Linked DNA regions of Homo sapiens: region 1 is linked to region 2. The links are contacts of gene promoters, found by promoter capture Hi-C in blood cells and fetal thymus (Javierre and others, 2016). All regions are on one chromosome and are shown on one strand. Each heading gives the region's core, a stretch centred on a gene start or on the middle of the fragment in contact. The rest is flanking DNA. Distances are from core to core; before and after follow the strand shown. Region 1 has its middle 55 kb from the start of INO80. Region 2 holds the start of CCDC32 (coiled-coil domain containing 32).

Region 1 (5,402 bases), core at 52-2,551, 610 kb after region 2:
TCTTTCTCATTCCTTTTCTCTTACTCTCTATACTCAAACCTGGAAAATACTGTATATGCTCATCACTTCAAGGGCCATTTACATCTCCCAATCTCTCTAGCTCAGATCTTTCTCCTTCTCTATATTCACATATATCTGACTGTCTAGTAGACACATCCATGTAGGAATTCCAAATGTATTCTAAATGAGAAACATGTAAAATTCAACTATCAAATCACAGTTCTGCAAACTATCCTCTCAATATATTCTCTCTGTAAATGGCACCAACTTCCAAACAGATGCCCAAGTCAGAAACCTGGGAGCCAGCCAAGACTCCTTTCCACACTTTACCATCCATATTCAATTGGTCATTTGGTTCATTATGCTTCCTAAAATCCTGTATTTGTGTATTCCTCTCCATCCTACCAACTGTATCCCACTGTATCCCTCCCAAATTCAAGCATTCACATCTTCCACCTTAATCAATGCAAGAGTTTTCATACAAGTCTTCCTCATATTATTCTTGCTCCTTTTCAATCCATCCTACAGCTTAAACCAGGACGATCTATCATCTACATTTCTGGTTGCAGTGAGCTGAGATCACATCACTGCACTCCAGTCTGGGCGAAAATAGCGAAAGTCTGTTTCAGAAAAAATAATAATTATATATATATATATATATAATCTACATTTCCGATCATCTCACTTCCTTGTTCATAACTGGCACTCACTCTGCCAGTTGAGTTGTTCCTGCTAACTAGAGTTCTGCCATAGCCCTCTATCCTATTTCCAAGCTTAGTTTTTTAGCCTTCTAGTCAGTTCTGTGAGCCACTCATCTTTCCAGTAAATTCCCTTCTTGTTTATATTACCCAAGTGATATAGTTTGGCCCTGTGTCCCCACTCAGGGGTTGGAGGTGGGGCCTGGTGGGAGGTGACTGGATCATGGGGTGGTTTCTAATGGTTTAGCACCATCCGCCTAGTGCTGTCTTGTGATAGAGTTCTCCCAAGATCTGTTTTTTTGAAAGTGTGTAGCACTTCCCCTTTTGCTCTCTTCCTCCTGCTCCAGCAATGTAAGACATGCTTGCGTCCCCTTTGCTTTCCACCAGGATTGTAAGTTTCCTGAGGCCTCCCAAGATACAGACGTCTATACAGCCTGTACAATCCCGTACAGTCTTAGCTGGCTCCTGGGTTTCTGACTTGGGCATCTGTTTGGAAGTTGGTGCCATTTACAGAGAGAATACATTTAGTTTGAAGCATTATGATTTGATAATGATAACTTATAGAGAAAAGAGATTTAATTGGCTTCAGGCAACCAATTACTTAGTCTCAGGTATATCTTTTTTTTTTTTTTTTTTTGGAGATGGAGTCTTGCTCCTTCACCCAGGCTGGAGTGCCATGGTGTGATCTCAGTTCACTGCGACCTCCGCCTCCTGGATTCAAGCAGTTCTTCTGCCTCAGCCTCCTGAGTAACTGTGACTACAGGTGCGTGCCACCATGCCTGGCTAATTTTTGTATTTTTAGTAAAGACAGGGTTTCACCATGTTGGCCAGGCTGGTCTCAAACTCCTTACCTCAGGTGATCCGCCCACCTTGCCCTCCCAAAGTGTTGAGATTACAGGCGTGATCCACCGCACCCAGCCCAGGTATGTCTTTATAGCAGTGTGAGAACAGTGTGAGAAGGGACTAACACACCGAGTCAGTTGTTTTGCTTATGACCAAAAAACTGTAACAGATACATGGACCTTGTCTATTTCCTAGCCTTATCTCTCACTATCATACCGTATTTTTTCCCCTCTTTCAATGGTGAAATCCTCATAGTTCTCTTACTCAAAGTGCACCCTTTCCTCTGAAGAAAGCTTTTGACACGGATCTCAGTTCCAGGACAAGTGCTATCTCCTTTCCAGGGCTACTCTGCCTTTCCCAACATGCGTACAATGCACCAGTACACCTTGAACATAACTATTATTTCGGTTATAATTTTGTGTACATATCGCCCACTAGACTCGAAGTCCTTTGAGAGTAGGGATTGTGTGTTTTTTTCTCTGATTCCCCAATCTAGTCCAGTGCCTGGCTTCAAAACGGCCCTCCAAAATGTTTGCTAACGAATGCACAAAACAAATGAAGCCTGCGGGTGCGGTAGCTCACACCTGTAATCCCGGCACTTTGGGAAGGTAAGGTGGGTGGATCATTTGAGGTCAGGAGTTTGAGACCAGTCTGGCCAATATGGTGAAACCCCGTCTCTACTAAAAATATAAAAATTAGCTGGGCATGGTGGTGAGCGCCTGTAATCCCAGCTACTCAGGAGGCTGAGGCAGGAGAATCACCTGAACCTGGGAGGCAGAGGTTGCAGAGAGCCCAGATCGCACCACTGCACTCCAGCGTGGGTGACAGAGCAAGACTCCATCTCAAAAAACAAACAAACACACAAACAAAAAAACAAATGAAGCTTACCATGTGGGACACTGTATAAGGCAGCTTTACGGCCACGGCTCAGTGTTCTCTATTTTTGTTGTTGTTTTTGAGACGGAGTCTTGCTCAGTCGCCCAGGCTGGAGTGCAGTGGCGCGATCTCGGCTCACTGCAAGCTCCGCCTCCCGGGTTCACGCCATTCTCCCGCCTCAGCCTCCCGATTAGCTGGGACCACAGGCGCCCGCCACCACGCCTGGCTAATTTTTTGTATTTTTAGTAGAGACGGGGTTTCACCATGTTAGCCAGGATGGTCTCAATCTCCTGACCTCGTGATCCGCCCGCCTCAGCCTCCCAAAGTGCTGAGATTATAGGCGTGAGCCACCGTGCCCGGCCCAGTGTTCTCTATTTTAAAGGCAAGTATGAACACCTACTAGACGTACATGTAATATTTTCATTTATATATTTTTTCATTTAAGTGGGCCTTCTCAGAAGGAAGTGCTGAGGAGGAATTTCCTTTTCTCCACATAAAGATTTTGCTATTTCAATGGCATCCCAACAAGTTACACAATAAAAAATTTCTTTCCCTTAATTCCCTCATTCCTGGAACTTGCCATTTTGGCTCTTCCTAAGGAATGTTTTCATTAGAATTTGTTTCCATTACAAAGTTCTTATTTAAAATACTCAGGGTTTAGCCATCAGGTGCCTTTCAAGTTATAAACAATAATGTACTTGGGGAATTGGAGAATTCCAGAATGTGGAAGTGTCTCATCCTAATTAGACAGGCTACTATTGCAATATGGAGAGATCAACAGCAAGAGGCTGAAGTTACTGGCCCTCTGGTTTCTCTGGCTTGCATTGCAATTAAATGCCTTCGATCAACTCTTCCAAATCTACTAGTTTACACTCTGGTTCATTTGGGAAAAAGAGGAACAAAAATTTCTTTTTTGTCCAGGTGCAGTGTCTCACGCCTGTAATCCCAGCACTATGGGAGGTCAAGGCGGGCAGATCACCTGAGGTCAGAAGTTCAAGCCTGGCCAACACAGTGAAACACCGTCTCTTAATAAAAATACAAAAATTAGCCAGGCGTGGTGGTGGATGCCTGTAATCCCAGTTACTTGGGAGATTGAGGCAGGAGAATCGCTTGAACCTGGGAGGCAGAGGTTGTAGTAAGACCAGATTGGGCCACTGCACTCCGGCCTGGGCGAAAGAAAAAAAAATTAATTTTTTAATTTTTATTTTTTAATTTAATTAATTAATTTATTTATTTATTTTTGAGACGGAGTCTCGCTCTGTCGCCCAGGCTGGAGTACAGTGGCGCGATCTCGGCCCACTGCAAGCTCCACCTCCCGGGTTCACGCCATTCTTCTGTCTCAGCCTCCTGAGTAGCTGGGACTACAGGCGCCCGCCACCATGCCTGGATAATTTTTTGTATTTTTAGTAGAGATGGGGTTTCACCGTGTTAGCCAGGATGGTCTCGATCTCCTGACCTCGTAATCTGCCCGCCTCGGCCTCCCAAAGTGCTAGGATTACAGGCGTGAGCCACTGCACCCAGCCAATTTTTTAATTTTTAAATTTTGGATTCAGGGGGGTACATGTATAGGTTTGTTACCTGTTATATTACATAATGGTGAGGTTTGGGCTTCTATTGTACCCAACAGGTAATTTTTTTAACCCTTCTTCCCCCACTTTCCCCTTTTGGAGGTCTCAATGTCTATTATTTCCATCCTTATGTCCATGTGTACCTGCTGTTTAGCTCCTATTTTGAGTGAGAACATACGGTATTTGATTTTCTGTATCTGAGTTATTTCACTTCAGACAATGGCCTCCAGCTCCATGCATGTTGCTCCAAAGGACATTATTTCATTCAGAAAAAGAGCAAAACAAAATTGTATGTATTAAAAGCGGATGGTTCTAGGGAACAGGACTGTGGTTAGGAAAGGAGGAGCCAAGGGAACATCTACTTTCATTAATAAGCCCTTCTGTATCGTTTCTTTTTCTTTCTTTCTTTCTTTTTTTTTTTTTTTTTTTTTTGAGACGGAGTCTCGCTCTGTCGCCCAGGCTGGAGTGCAGTGGCACGATCTCGGCTCACTGCAAGCTCCGCCTCCCGGGTTCAAGCGATTGTCCTGCCTCAGCCTCCTGATTAGCTGGGACTACAGGCGCCCGCCACCACGCCCGGCTAATTTTTTGTATTTTTAGTAGAGATGGGGTTTCACCATGTCGGTCAGGCTGGTCTTGATCTCCTGACCTCAGGTGATCCGTCCGCCTCGGCTTCCCAAAGTGCTGGGATTACAGGCATGAGCCACCGCACTCAGCCTCTGTTTCTTTTATAATCATGTGAATGTATTACTGCCTCCTTTAAAATTATGTTTGAATTTTATCCAACTATAAGAGCAACACATATTTGCTCCTTCTGTTCATTGACATCATTTAACGAAAATATTGTAGCCCTAATGATTATTTTCCTGACACCCACTAGACCAGCAGCTTCCAAATGTTTTAAAATTAATTTTCTGAGGCATAATTTACATACAATAAAAAGCACCAATTAAAGTATATTGTTCAATGAGTTTCAACAAATGTATACATCAGTGTAACTACCAGCATAATCAAGATATAGAACATTCATATCACCTGAGAAGGTTCCCATGTCCCCTTGTTACCGGAAAGGGGGGGTCCCAATACAGACACCAAGAAAGGGTTCTTGGACTTCGTGCAAAAAAGAATTTGGGGCGACTCCATACAGTAAAGTGAAAGCAAGTTTATTAAAAAAGTAAAGGAAGGCTGGGCGCGGTGGCTCACGCCTGTAATCCCAGCACTATGGGAGGCCGAGGCGGGCAGATCACGAGGTCAGGAGATCGAGACCATCCTGGCTAACACGGTGAAACCCCGTCTCTACTAAAAATACAAAAAGTTAGCCGGGTGTGGTGGCGGGCGCCTGTAGTCCCAGCTACTTGGGAGGCTGAGGCAGGAGAATGGCGTGAACCCGGGAGGCAGAGCTTGCAGTGAGCCGAGATCG
Region 2 (5,713 bases), core at 467-2,966:
GCACTCCAGCCTGGGTGACATTGCGAGGCCCTGTCTCACAAATAAATAAATAAAATAAAAATAAAAATGGAATTCCTACAAGCCATACACAAAAGGCAGATACTGTGATTCCACTTATATAAGGTACCTGAGTAGTCAAATTCATAGATACAGAAAATAGGATGGTGGGAGCTGGGGGCTGGGAGGTAGAAAGAATGGGGAATTACTGTTTAATGGGTACACAGTTTCAGTTTGGGAAAATGAAAAAGTTCTGGAGGTGGATGGTAGTTATGGTTGCACAACAATGTGAACACCACTGAATCATACACACAAAAATAGTTAAAATGGTCAATTTTATGCTACATATATTTTAACACACACACACACACACACACACACACACAAATCTGTAGGGCATTTCCAGGTTGGACAACCAGCCTGCACTTTTCTCCAAAGATCTCCAAAATGCAACAGTTCTATCTCCAGTCAATTAAATTCTGTTTTTTTTTCTTTCTTTCTTTCTTTTTTTTTTTTGAGACAGAGTCTCGCTCTGTCGCCCAGGCTGGAGTGCAGTGGCGCTAACTTGGCTCACTGCAACCTCCGCCTCCCGGGTTCACGCCATTCTCCTGCCTCAGCCTCCCAAATAGCTGGGACTACAGGCACTCGCCACCACGCCCGGCTAATTTTTTGCATTTTTTAGTAAAGACGGGGTTTCACCGTTTAGCCAGGGTGGTCTCGATCTCCTGATCTTGTGATCCGCCCGCCTCGGCCTCCCAAAGTGCTGGGATTACAGGCGTGAGCCACCGCGCCCGGCCCCTAAATTCTGTTTTCAACAGAACACAGACTAAAGGTCTTTCCACAGTTCCATATACATGAAGATCCTGCTTGGTAAAAAGTGTCTGTCAGAGAGTACTGTTACAATGCAAGGGCTGTGTGCTCAGCGCATGCAGTTCAGCCGTATGTCTCATGCTCTTATTTTAATACAATCACTGAAAGGTAGGTATTTTCACCATTTTACAGATGAAAAAACAAGTTCAGAAGGGTAACTTGCTCTAGGGCACATTACTGATATGTGGGGAATCCTTGACAGGAAAACCAGATCTGTGCTGCTCCAGAATCCATGTTTTTATCAAATACCATCCTGCTTGTTTGGAAAATATAACGAAAGCAGCCCAAGCACGGGCAGGTAGGAAAAGCTACGCAAAGAGCCTGGAGGCTTTTATAACTATCTAGGCATATGAGACAGGCTGACACCTTCTTTCAAGAGGAGACTTAGAAATCAGGAAGGCTGCCTGAGGCAAGGTCTGAATAATGCCAGGAGACAGAGCCCAGCCAGCGTAAAGGCCGGAAGTAAAAGGGACAGCTATGACACGGCGGTCCTGGGTGAACTGATGTCTAGCGCTACAGTGAACCCCCAACCCGAATTCGTCTAAAGCCACCCAAAACCAAAACTTTGCTCACACCAGAGCCCCGCATGGCCCCTTACCCCAGGGCAGGGCGTCCAGAACCACGCAGGAAATTCCGGCGTCCAGATCCCAGGCCTCAGTCGCTCAGGTCTCTAGGGCTGTCTGGACGGGATGAATCAGGTCCCAAGGCCTCTATGTGGTATTCCGGGGCCGGGCCAGAGTGGGAGATCCAAAACGCTGGGCACCCCAGCCCCTCCTCACTTACCGTAACAGCTGCCCAGTAAACGCTTGGCTCAGCTCTGTCGCCTGTAGCCCGGAGGAAATCGGGAGGGGCGGAGTCCCCTAGTGACGGAGCCCAGGAGTCCTCCAACTACCTTCCCACCCGACGATGTTCTGTGCGTCGATTGGTCGAGAGGAGCTCAGCGTGGTGAAGAAGTGAGGAGCAGCAAGAGGCGAGCGGTGGACGGGGCTCTGGTTGCCGGGAAACGGTGGAGTCACGTGCCCTGAGCATTGCCCCTCCCCTCCCGAGGGCCAGGTTGATTCCTTGCAGATCCAGGGTTCCAGTCCCTGCTTGGATAGGGAAGTCGTTTCCAAGACTTTTGACTTTTCCTAGTCGCCGGAGCCAGTTCACCTCCTCCACAACTTTCTCTGTCGGTGTTTGTCTTCTAAAAATTTCACCCCTTCGTTACCCAAATTAGAGCACTTCGGCGGCTTCTTTCCTTACTCTCCCAGGAGACTCGTGTCTCATTCATCAAATTATGAAGCTTTCCTTCATTCATTTAGTCAATAGATACCAAGCACCTGCTGTGTTCTAAGCATTGTGTTAAGCGTGAAGTTAAGACACATATGACTTGATATAAGTCCTGGAGATCCTTACAGCTTAGTAGTGTAGGAAGGGGGTCCGCCATGGAGGCATAAAAGTTTACAAATAACAGTAAACAGTGATAGACAGCCGGGCGCGGTGACTCACGCCTGTAATCCCAGTACTCTAGGAGGCCGAGGCAGGTGGATCACCTGAGGTCAGGAGTTCGAGACCAGCCTGGGTGAAACATGGTGAAACTCTGTCTCTACTAAAAGTACAAAAATTAGCTGAGCATGGTGGCACATGCCTGGAATCCTAGCTATTCGGGAGGCTCAGGCAGGAGAATCGCTTGAACCGGGAAGGCAGAGGTTGCAGTGAGACAAGATCGCACCACTGCATTCCAACCTGGGCAACAGAGCAAGACTGTCTCAAAAAAAAAAAAGGAGGGGGGCGTTGAGGATTATAGAGTATATGATGGAAGTGTGGCCAGAGTACATAAAGGAGAGAGTGGTCATAAGAAGTGTGTGTCAGAATGCTTTGTTGTTGTAGTTGTTAAAGGAGATGACCTTTGATATCCTTCAGGGGATAGATACCAGCTTGTTCATTGAGATCGACCCCTCCCCATCCCCAGCTTCCAGGATCAACACCAGTTACTCTCTCCCAAGAAACACGTGATGAAAGACATCAGCCAACCATCAGTAGCCAAGTAACTTGGCTGAGGAAATAGTTCTCACTCCAGCCTGGGTGACAGAGCAAGACTCCGTCTCAAAAAAAAAAAGAAAGAAAGAAAAAGAAAACAACAACAACAAAAACAACATAGTTTTAGGATTACAGATGTGAGCCACTGCGCCCAGCTAAAATACAATTTAAAATTCAGTTCCTGGCCGGGCTTGGTGGCTCATGCCTGTAATCCCAGAATTTTGGGAGGCTGAGGGGGTGTGGATCACCTGAGATCAGCAGTTCGAGACCAGCCTGGCCAACATGGTGAAACCCTGTTTCTACTAAAAATACAAAAATTAACTGGGCGTGGAGGCGCATGCCTGTAATCCCAGCTACTCAGGAGGCTGAGGTAGGAGAACTACTTGAACCCAGGAGGCGGAGGTTGCGCCACCACATCCGGCCTGTAATCCTAACACTTTGGGAGGCCAAGGTGGATGGATTGTTTGAGCCCAGTTTGAGACCACCCTAGGCAATGTGGCAAAACCTCGTCTCTACTAAAAATACAAAAAATTAGCCAGTCATGGTGGCACATGTCTGTCGTCTCAGCTACTAGGGAGCCTGAGGTGGGAGGATCACTTCAGTTTGGGAAGTCAAGGCTGCAGTGAGCCAAAATCGTGCCACTGCACTCCAGCCTGGGTGATGGGAGTGAGATCTTGTTTCAAAACTTGTTAAAATTTTAATTAATTTAAATTTAATTAGCCACATGTGGCTATTGTACAGCACATGGCTAATGGTGATCCTATTGTATAGCACAGGATTGGAGAATATTACATAGTTCACAGAACCTCAAGGTGAGTGGAGAGTCAGGCTTTAGGTCTATACAGCCAGGGACAGTATCTGAATCTCACTGAGAGACTGCTCAGGGAACACCCCACAGCCACTGAACATCTATAGCTGGCATTATTCGTCGATTGGGTACTTGACACAAGAACCTCCCCGACTGTTGGCCTCCCAGATTAGATGCCTCCAATGCTACCTTGTTAGACACGGATTTCACACTGAGCCTGCTTCCGCGGCTGTGTGCCTCTGAACCAAAGCCTCTGTCTAAGAGATAGAGCCCAGGTCAAATGCCTATGTCCAAGCTGCAAGAGAGTGTGGGAAGGCTCTGGCTTCTACCTTTTGGGGGCAGTAATGAAATGTGAGAAATTCCCCACCCAAAAGAAGGGTGTTCGGAAGATGCTGGATGTTTACAGAATATGACAAATGTCTACTCTACATGGTCTATGCCAGTGCTTCTCAAGCTTTAATATGCAGAAAAATCACCTGAGGATCATGTTAAAGTGCAGATTCTCATTTAGTAGGTCAGAAGGGGAGGAGGAACAAGATTCTGCTATGTTTTCTGTCTCCACAGTTTTGCCAGGCACTAGTCCAAGTATTTTACTTGAATTAACTAATTTAATTCTCCCACCCCAATCCTATGGAGCAAAGAGGCTAGCTAAGAATACATACTTTTCTTTTGGATAAGGTTCTGCTTTCACTGTAAATATCTTAATGAAATGATGCACTTGAGAGATGATGTCCCTCCTGTGAAGTAGTTTGGTTCTAACATACCCCACAATCAATGGAGAATTCTACCTCTTATTTCTGGAGGTAGTCAGGAATCAGACTTTTCAGCATATGGAGTTCTGCAGCTGTGGATACCTCAGCTGCAGTCCCTCAGTTAGTTTGGTGAGACTAATGACTTGAAGAAGGAATTTAGCTAAAAAAGATTTCCCTTTCTCCTCTCCAGAATACAAATGCCTAGGATAAGAATTAGACTGTCTTTTTTTTTTTTTTTTTTTTGGCAAACTAACATTGAAATGCCTCCTTATTTGGAAGAATCCCACTCTGGATACCAAAGAGGGTTAGATTCTTGGCCGGGCGCGGTGGCTTACGCCTGTAATCCCAGCACTCATAATATAAAAATTAGCCAGGCGTGGTGGTGCGTGCCTGTAGTCCCAGCCACTCAGGAGGCTGAGGCAGAAGAATGGCTTGAACTCAGGAGGCGGAGGTTGCAGTGAGGTGAAATCGCTCCACTGCACTCCAGCCTGGGCGACAGAGCAAGACTCCGTCTCAAAAAAAAAAAAAAAAAAAAAAAAAAAGAGGGTTAAATTCTTCCATCTCCAGGCACCCTGGAAGTGAGGGCTCAGAGCAATGAGGTTTGGCTGATGGAAGTCCTCCCCTGCAGGACTCTTAACCTTGGAAGAGGGACACAGAGACACAGGGAGATTTAGGGGTCTCCAAGGGGTGGCAGGGCTGCAGGAAAAAGAGTCCTTTGGCACAACATAGTTTCTTGTGTCTACTGCATCCCAACTGGGTTTCTTCCCTGACATGTCTGAAGCCAGGCTCTCAAAAGGCTTGGTTTCCCTTGATTTGGCCCTTTTTCTGAGCCTAGTCTCCAGTTGTCTTGTGAATTCTATGAGGCACTAATATACTTTCCATAATTCTATCTCTGATGAAATTAGCCAGAGTTGGTTTATTTTGCACTTAAGAACCCTCGCCATATATCCTCTGATCTATTTGCAGTTTTAATCTCAGGATGGAAGCATGTGGGAGGCGAATGGGGATCACTAATCCTTCTCATGCTGTTAGGGGGAAACACAGGTGTGAACACATTGCTTCTGGGGTGCTTGTGTGTGTTTTAAATACATATATAACAATCTTACTGAGATACAAGTCACATACTATAATATTGACCCTTTTAAAATATAGAATACAGTGGGTTTTAGTATATTCGCAGAGTTTAGCAATCTTTATTCTGGTTGTTAGTTTTTGTTTTGTCTTAAATAAAGCTCCTTTCAAGCGTTTCTTCAGACCCAAGGGACTA

Evidence for each region. The method cuts DNA at HindIII sites, captures the fragments that hold promoters and counts their contacts. A CHiCAGO score of 5 or more calls a contact.
Region 1: a contact is called between a fragment that was not itself captured here and the fragment with the promoter of CCDC32 in region 2, in 1 of 17 cell types (M2 macrophages). The highest score is 6.2, in M2 macrophages.

Annotation. Positions count from the first base shown.
Region 1 is chr15:41,169,009-41,174,410 of GRCh38, forward strand. No RefSeq gene overlaps it. Among named protein-coding and RNA genes, the nearest start is that of INO80, 55 kb to the left of the region's middle. The HindIII fragment of the contact is 1,061 bases long and covers 772-1,832 here.
Region 2 is chr15:40,563,326-40,569,038 of GRCh38, forward strand. CCDC32 (coiled-coil domain containing 32) reads right to left here and starts at 1,717. Exons shown (of 4, transcript NM_001080792.4): 1 at 1,651-1,717. RefSeq lists enhancers at 2,116-2,165, 2,645-2,939 and a silencer at 3,892-4,071. The HindIII fragment of the contact is 7,257 bases long and covers 1-2,147 here.